2 separate regions of the Homo sapiens genome follow, and region 1 is linked to region 2. The links are contacts of gene promoters, found by promoter capture Hi-C in human tissues and cell types (Jung and others, 2019). All regions are on one chromosome and are shown on one strand. Each heading gives the region's core, a stretch centred on a gene start or on the middle of the fragment in contact. The rest is flanking DNA. Distances are from core to core; before and after follow the strand shown.

Region 1 (4,191 bases), core at 248-2,747, 520 kb after region 2:
ACATGGCACAGTTGAGCTAGAGATGTCCATATAGCAAGGCTTTGGGATGTGGAGAACAGCTGCTTTTTTATTCCACGGGAAGTAGAAGGGGTTTGTGTATGACTCAACATGTGTCTCTATGCATGCATGCCTGAGTGTAGATAGGTATGCATATGTACCTAGGTGCATATGTATGCATATATGTGACTTCAGTATTGGAAGAGTTATAATGATAGCTCAGCCTCTTCTTCCTAATGGCTCCTGGGGATTCTGTGCCTTGACAATTCTCTATAAAGTAGCTTTTAGCAGCATTAGTCCCAGAGGCACCACTCCCTGCTGAGGACTGTGCTGGCGCCCTTCTCTGGAAGCTTTTTTGGGATGCCTCTCCTTGGTAACATTCCAGCCATAGCTTGGAATGCTTGCCTTTCTTCAGAAGTGTGAGGACGGAGTGAATGCAACAGAATGTATGTATTCCGTACACTCGCAACTGGGAGACTCTGCTCACCTCATTATGTTCCCTTAAAGTGACTAAGTAGTGGTGCATTAACTACTGTGTTGGGTTTGTTCCCCGGAATCTTAACTGTTCAGCTGTTGATTGACTACTCCTGATTTAACATGAAAATCTTGTCAGACACTGCCTCTACTTATCGTTCTCTGGTTGTGGAGGTTTGTTGCTTGTTTTCTTTTAAGGTCCAAAAAGGCAGAAATGCACACATGAGCATTTGGCCATGAGCACAGCAGATGGAGAATTATGGAGCAGATAAACAAGATTCAATATTTTTTTTTGTCGAAACCCTGAATTTGTGTCTGGCTCTGTGTCTTGTGTGAAATGTGGTCCTTGCCACGGGGCAGATGTAACCCGAACGGAGACTTGGTTAGCAGGTAGTTAGGGGGAGTGTGGAAGGATCTGCCTGTCTTTAAGCAGAGTAAGTAGCTAAGACTGAACTAGCAGTAAACTTGTATTCTTTTCAAGACTTCTTTCCTGCTACTTAATTGTTGGCAATTTCAGAAACTATCCATACACCTTGTCAAGAAGCAGAATTGAGAGGGTGTTTTCGAGAAAGAAAAAGAGATATATGTTCATTTGCTGGGAATTTTTATGGCAGAGGAGAAACCCATGGACAAATTCCTGGCATATTGAAATATCCATTCTGCACCTTGACATTTTTACATAGTGTTTCCTCAAGGAATCTTACTCTGTCTTACTGATAGTACTTATATTGGTCCCCCAAACTAGCAATAAACAGCAACATAACCTGTAAGAAAGCCAACAGGAGGATAAAAAGAGAAAAGAGGGTTTATAGGGAAAATGACAACTCACATTCCCAACAGCAGATCACAGGGTGAGGTCAAGGTATGTGACACTAGTGATTTCACCTGAGGCCAGTGCTTGCCACCAGTTCCTAAGAATTGATAGGTACTTGTTAAAATCTAGATTTGCAGGTCCCCACCCTGAATGTATTATATCCTTAGGAAAGGGATCTGGGACTATTTTTTTTAATAGGCATCTCCGGTGATTCTTATGGTCAGACACATTGGGGAAACTGCTGTCATCTAATCGACTACTAGGACTAAGATATTTCTAGAATTTTGGGTGAATGTGTGTGTGTGCATAATTACCAAGGATCTTAAGGTTAAAAGAAAATTATCAACTACTCCATCTTGTCATCGTGAAACATTTCTTAATGAAAACATCTATGTAGGGTTGTCTGGTTAGAGGACATTTTCTCATGTACTACCTCATTTGATCCTAATAACAATCCCATGAGGAGGTTAGGCAGCGATGATCATGCTCACCCCCAAGTTGCATGTAGAAATGGGCTTTGCATGTGGCTAGCAAGTGTGAGACTGGCTTTGAATAGCATTTTTTGCCATGCAGGCAAGCCCAACATCAACCCTAAAGCCTGCCACTGTTCCTCTTTTACCCCACACTCTGGTCAGTAACATATCAGGTTCTTTGCACATCCACACCTTTGCACACCTGTACCTCCTCTGTCTTCCTTCCCTGTCAGCAAATCATATTTATTCATTAAGGTGCCTTCCTTAAGCTTTTTTGGATACACCCTTGTCTTCACCCAGCCTCCTACCCAAGTGGAGCTAGCTGTTCTTTTGGTTGTGTTTCCATCACACTATATAGATCCTTCTACTGCATGCTGGGGTCTTGTTTAATGTAGATGAGTTCAATAATAAGAGCTTGGTAACACCCCCCTCTTCTTCCCTAAACTGCCATCGTGCCACTTACTTTTAATAAGCAGTAGATGTAATCATGTTTAAGACAGTACTTGTTGGCTAAAGCTATGGGAGGCATTTGGGAATGATTTCAAGGGTTTTCCAAATACCGACACAAAAGTGTTCCGGTGGCCAGAAACATGGCCATTAGCATCCTCTAGGAATGGAATTATTTGAGGATAACAAGGAACATTGTCTAACAAGAAGTAGAGGAATCATAGGGAACTGTCTTAGTTTGCTCAGGCTGCCATAACAAAATACTATAGACTGGATGGCTTAAGCAACAGAAATTTTTGTTCTCCCAGTTCTGGAGGTTGGAAGTCCAAAATCAGGGTTAGTTTCTGGTGAGGCCTCTCTTCCTGGCTTACCAACGGCCACGTTTTCACTGTGTCTTCACATGGCCTTTCCTCCTGTGTGAGAGAGAAGAAAGAGAGAGAGGGAGAAGAAGAGGGAGAGAGAGAGAGAGAGAGAGAGAGAGAGAGAGAATGAGAACGTGAGCTCTGGTGTCTCTTCCTCTTCTTATGAAGACACCGGTCCTATTGGATCAGGGCCACACCCTTACGACCTCTTTTAATCTGAATTATCTCCTTAAAGGCCCTGTCTCCAAATACAGTCGCTTTGGGGGTTAGGGCTTGCAACATATCAATGTTGGTGGGGATACAATTCAATTCATAACAGGGATTGTATGCACAAAACCACAGATTTAGTAGTTTCCTTGTCAGGGATTTAAGGGCCTATCAAAGTTTCAGTGATGGGTGGTGTTCATGGTACATTCACTGTAGTTCATAGTTCAGGTTAGAGACTATCTGGCCTGGCTTTCAGATTGTATAATAGTTATTTCTTTATGTAAATATCTCCCCCACTGGACTTCTTGTAAGGGTTGGTCTGAGTCTTATTCATCTTTGTCTGCCAACTGATAATGGTTCAATAAACTTTTAAGGAACAAATCTTCTCACCATCTGCATCTGTATGTGATCAGATGTATTAATTTTAGTTCTGATTCCCATTCTCTTGTGTTTGCAGCCACCATTGGTTCAGGCAATCTTCAGCGGTGATCCAGAGGAGATCCGGATGCTCATCCATAAAACTGAAGATGTGAATACTCTGGTAAGAGATACTGTGGTTTTGCTACTCAGGCCCTGTTAGCCTGGAGCAGGAAAGGACTCTTAACCTTTTATATACCATGGACTCTTGATATCTGGTGAAAGCTCCAGACTGTTTCTCAGGACACTGTTCTTAAACCCTATATAAGAAATAAAATATCTAGGGTTACAATGGAAATCAGTTATTGAGATACAGTTACCCAAATATTAAAAATATACTTTGTAATATGGTAATATATGTGCTTTTAAAAAAAATAACACATTTAGGCTGGGCGCAGTGGTTCATGCCTATAATCCCAGAATTTTGGGAGGCTGAGTTGGGCAGATCACTTGAGCCCAGGAGTTTGAGACCTGGGCAACATGGTGAAACTCTGTCTCTAAAAAAAAAAAAAAAAAAAAAAAAAAAAAAAAAAAGAAAAATTAGCCGGGCATAGTGATGGAGGCACAGGTGGGAGGATTGCCTGAGCCCAGGAGTTCGAGGCTGCAGTGAACTTTGATCACGCCACTGCACTCTAGCCTGGTTGACAGAGTAAGACCCTACCTCAAAAAAAAAATCTGGTTAAATAACCAGATACAGCAGAAGATCTAAGAGTGAGCATAATTTAAATATAGTGATGAGCATAATCAGTATTTTGAGTTGTGTGCAACAACTCTAATGTTATATGAACATACCTGTGATTTCTGCTGGTGACAGCATTACAGTTACTGATGTTGCTACTGTGGTTTATGGCCTACATTCATAGTGGAAGGAAATGCTAAATTCCAATCAGAAGTCAGTGATAATAGAGGTGCAATTTTTTTTCCAAGGTGATGAACCCCTGGAACCCATGCCCTGCAGCAGTGGTTGGCAACCTATGGTACATCATACATTTTTTTCTGC
Region 2 (3,806 bases), core at 520-3,019:
GAAACAAAAGCCCAGTTTCAGGTCCCAGCCTCCTCCCTTCAAAAGGGCATGGATGTCCATAGAATCGAGGCAAGAAATAGAGCTCTCCAAGACTCCTCTCTGAGGCAGAGACCCCCAGCCTAGACAGCAGCTTGTCAGCTAGGCTTGGGGTGACAGGCTGCAGCAAAGTCCCAAAGACTCGCAAACATTCCAAGGCCACATGAAGCACAGTACCCAGCCAGGGAGCATCCACTGGGCTCTCCCAGTTCAGCTTCCATGGTGCATGCCTTTGGACAAAACCATTAGTTTGCCGGACACAGCTGGACACGGCCTCCAGAGCCTTATATATCCGAAAGTTATCATAGTGGTCTGCTACCTGCTTTGGCAAAGTGGCCACTGCGCTCACCAGAGCATAATCCTCTGCCTGAGCACGAACTGACGGCCCCACCAACCCTGGCTCACTAGGGAAGCAGGTAGTGCAGAAGGCTGGGTAGGTCTCAGAAGGATTTATTCTTTTGGCAGTGCATCGGTTCAAGAGACCTCCCAAGGCATCTGCCAGCTCGGAGTTCAGCAACTTAACCACCTTTTCATCATAGTAGTCACAGTCCCAGTTGGGGACGCCCTGCCGAAGGAGAAAGTAGCGGAAGCCATCCACGGTATAGCGGTTAAGGCAAGTCCTAGGATCCACCACGTTGCCCAAGCTCTTGGACATCTTTTGGCCACAGACTGTCCAGTGGGAATGGACACAGATGCGCTGTGGCGGGCTCATGCCGGCCCCTAACAGGAAGGCAGGCCAATAGATGGCATGGAATTTGAGAATGTCCTTACCTATGATATGAGAGGTGGCCGGCCACCAAGATTTGAACTCAGCATTTGGGTAGCCAATTACAGTGAGGTAGTTGACCAGGGCATCCAGCCATACATAGATGGTCTGCGAATCATCCCCGGGCACCGGAATGCCCCAGTGCAAGTGGCTACTTCTGCGAGACACGGACAGGTCGGGCAGCTCCTCGTCCAGCCACTGAAGAACTACGTGATGAAATGGTTCGGGGGTGATCGCCTGAGGGTTGCCCCGCAGCCACCGCTGGAGTGGCTTCCGGAACTGGGAAAGCCTGAAAATGTAGTTTTCTTCCTTGGTCCAGGAGACTGGATGCCCGCTCTCGAGAGATACAGGAAACGAATCCCCCGATGGGCCCGGCTGCTGGGTGACCTTGGCCTCAGGCAGGAAGCACTCGTCGGAAGCGCAATACCAACCTTCATAGACGCCCTTGTAGAGCAGACCGCGGGACTTAAGCACCCCCCAGAAGTGCTGCACAGCCACCCGGTGCCGGGCCTCCGTGGTGCGGATGAAATCTGTGCAGGAGATACCGGCCTCCTGGAAAAGCTGCTGGAACTGCTCAGAGACTCGGTCGCACAGCTCGGTCGGGGCCAGGCCCGCGGTAGCTGCTGCCTGCTGAATCTTCAGCCCGTGCTCGTCGGTACCAGTGGAGAATCGCGTGGCGGCCGTGCTGGGACCTCGGAGGCGACGGTGGCGGCATAGGGCGTCCGCCAGTAGTGCCGAGTACAGGTGCCCGATGTGCGGCGCCGCGTTCACGTAGAAAATGGGTGTAGTGAAGTAGGCGCGCACATCACAAGCATCATCGCCGGCACTGAGGGAGCCCGAACTGTAGTAGCGTGGGCCGAAGTCCTCCAGGAGAGACAGCCTACTAGCCCCCGTGCGTCCTAGCAGGCGGAGGACGGACGTTCGCAGCATGGTGCAGACCGGCCGCAAGCGGAGGAGGCGGCGTTCTGACAGCACGTGTGAGAGGCGCATGCGCAGCCGGGTCGCGCCGCAGCTTCCGGCCGGAAAGCCAATGAAACGCGGCCCCGAGCGCCGGCCCTCACCGCCCTCCCCGCCCGGCCCCGCCCCGCCCGCGCCTGCGCCGTCCGCACGCCGAAAGCCGCGGCGCCAGAGGCCGCCAATGGACGGCGGCTTGCCAGAAAAACAGCTCAGAGTTGCCGGGTTTAGGAGAGGCTATGAAAGAAGACGAACCTCTTTGCCTTCGTATAACATACTGTGTTTCCTGCTTTGGATTGTAATTTTATATTTATGAATCTGTTTCCCCCTCTAGGCTGAGCTGCTTGTAGGCAAGAGTTTTATATTCAGCCGTTTGTCTAAACCCCGTCCGTGGCTGGCATACTGCAAGACAGAGTATTGCTCTGCACATGCCCTGTCGATATCTAAAATGTCACCTAAATTTTATCTCAGAGCCTAAATCAATCTGTAAGGGAGGGAGAGAGAAAAAAGATGAAAAATCATTACCTACAGCATTTTGAGAGAAGGATAAGAACTGAGAATGGAAGAGAAGTCTTTAAACAGTTTTTGTTGAATCAACAAAAGTAGATTTGTGATCTGCCAAGTTCTTGCCAAAGTTTATTGAGATCCAGGAAAGTAGAGTGCAATATGCTGTCACTGTGCATATAAAGAATAATTTTCAAATTTATTTCTCAAAAAGTTAATTTTTTTAATGGTCTTGAAGTTCTTTTAAAATAGTGTTTCTCAAGTTTGCTTTTAGTAATGGAACCTTAGAATTTTTTTTAGGGGAGGAAACCTCAGGAGCCCAGAATTGAATTAATGTTAATCCCTAGTTCATAACACACTCTCATCTTTGATCTTTTTTTTTTAATTTAATTTAAGTAGCATATACATTTAATAATAAAATGGAGCAGCTATGAACCTACAACCCAATCTAAGAACTACAAGTGGTTTCAGAGTGTGGTCCCCAGAGCAGCAGAACTGGCAGCACCTGGAACTTCGTTCGATATGTATATTCTTAGGCCCCATCCCCCACATACTGAACCAGAAAACTCTGAGGGTAGGGCCCAGTAATTTAGATTTTAAGGTGATTCTGATGCACATTAAAGTTTGAGAAACACTGAACTAGAAAATTACCAGTGATTTAGATCTGTGTGCTCCTTTTCTTCTCGTACTGTCCTCCCTGAGGTAGTCATTGTCCTGAATTTTGTTCTTGCACATTTGTGTGATCACATACAAAGTATGTCTAAGTAACATTGTTTAATTTTGCTTGCATTTAAATATTCTAAAAAGGATATAATACTACATGTAGTCTTCAACTTGCCTTTTTATTCAACATTTTGTTGCTATATTAATCCATGTTGTTGCATGTAACTGCATTCATATGTTCTTAATACATGTTGCATGTAATTCATTCATTTTGACTGCTGTATAATAACCTTTGACTGAACACATATGGTAACTTGGATCTGATTTCTCTAGTGATATGATGAAAGGTGGACCAATCGAATTCTGTATAAGAGATATAAAAAATAACTTTGGATACTCAGTTGATGTGCTCTTATTTAATCCAGCAGTTTAAGAATGACCTACAACCATCTGGTCTTCAACAAAGTTGATAAAAACAAGCAATGGGCAAAAGACTCCCTATTCAATAAATGGTGCTTGGATAACTAGCTAGCCATATACAGATGAAACAGGACCCCCTTCCTATACCATATACAAAACTCAACTCAAAATGGATTAAAGACTTAAATGTAAAACCTAAAACTAAAAACCTTAGAAGGTAACCTGGGAAATACCATTCTGGACATAGGACCTGACAAAGATTTCATCATGAGGATGCCAAAAGCAATTGCAACAAAAACAAAAATTGACAAATGGGACCTAATTAAAGAGTTTCCGCACCACAAAATAAACTATCAACAGAGTAAGCAGACAATCTACAGAATGGGAGAAAATATTTTCAAACTATGAATCCAAGAAAGGTCTAATATCCAGAATCTATAAGGAATTTTAAAAATCAATAAGC

Evidence for each region. Contacts are between HindIII fragments. The study calls those that stand out against the background at their distance.
Region 1: a fragment that was not itself captured here is called in contact with the fragment with the promoter of MARS2 in region 2 in 1 of the 25 tissues and cell types used here (hippocampus).

The regions. Positions count from the first base shown.
Region 1 is chr2:197,186,147-197,190,337 of GRCh38, reverse strand. It overlaps ANKRD44 (ankyrin repeat domain 44), which reads left to right. Exons shown (of 28, transcript NM_001195144.2): 2 at 3,232-3,315. Among named protein-coding and RNA genes, the nearest start is that of ANKRD44-AS1, 9.7 kb to the left of the region's middle. RefSeq lists an enhancer at 2,599-3,798. The HindIII fragment of the contact is 4,059 bases long and covers 1-3,526 here.
Region 2 is chr2:197,703,332-197,707,137 of GRCh38, reverse strand. It overlaps MARS2 (methionyl-tRNA synthetase 2, mitochondrial), which reads right to left and starts at 1,769. Exons shown (of 1, transcript NM_138395.4): 1 at 1-1,769. The coding sequence starts at 1,732. RefSeq lists enhancers at 1,366-1,485, 1,526-1,575 and a silencer at 1,716-1,955. The HindIII fragment of the contact is 12,008 bases long and covers 1-3,806 here.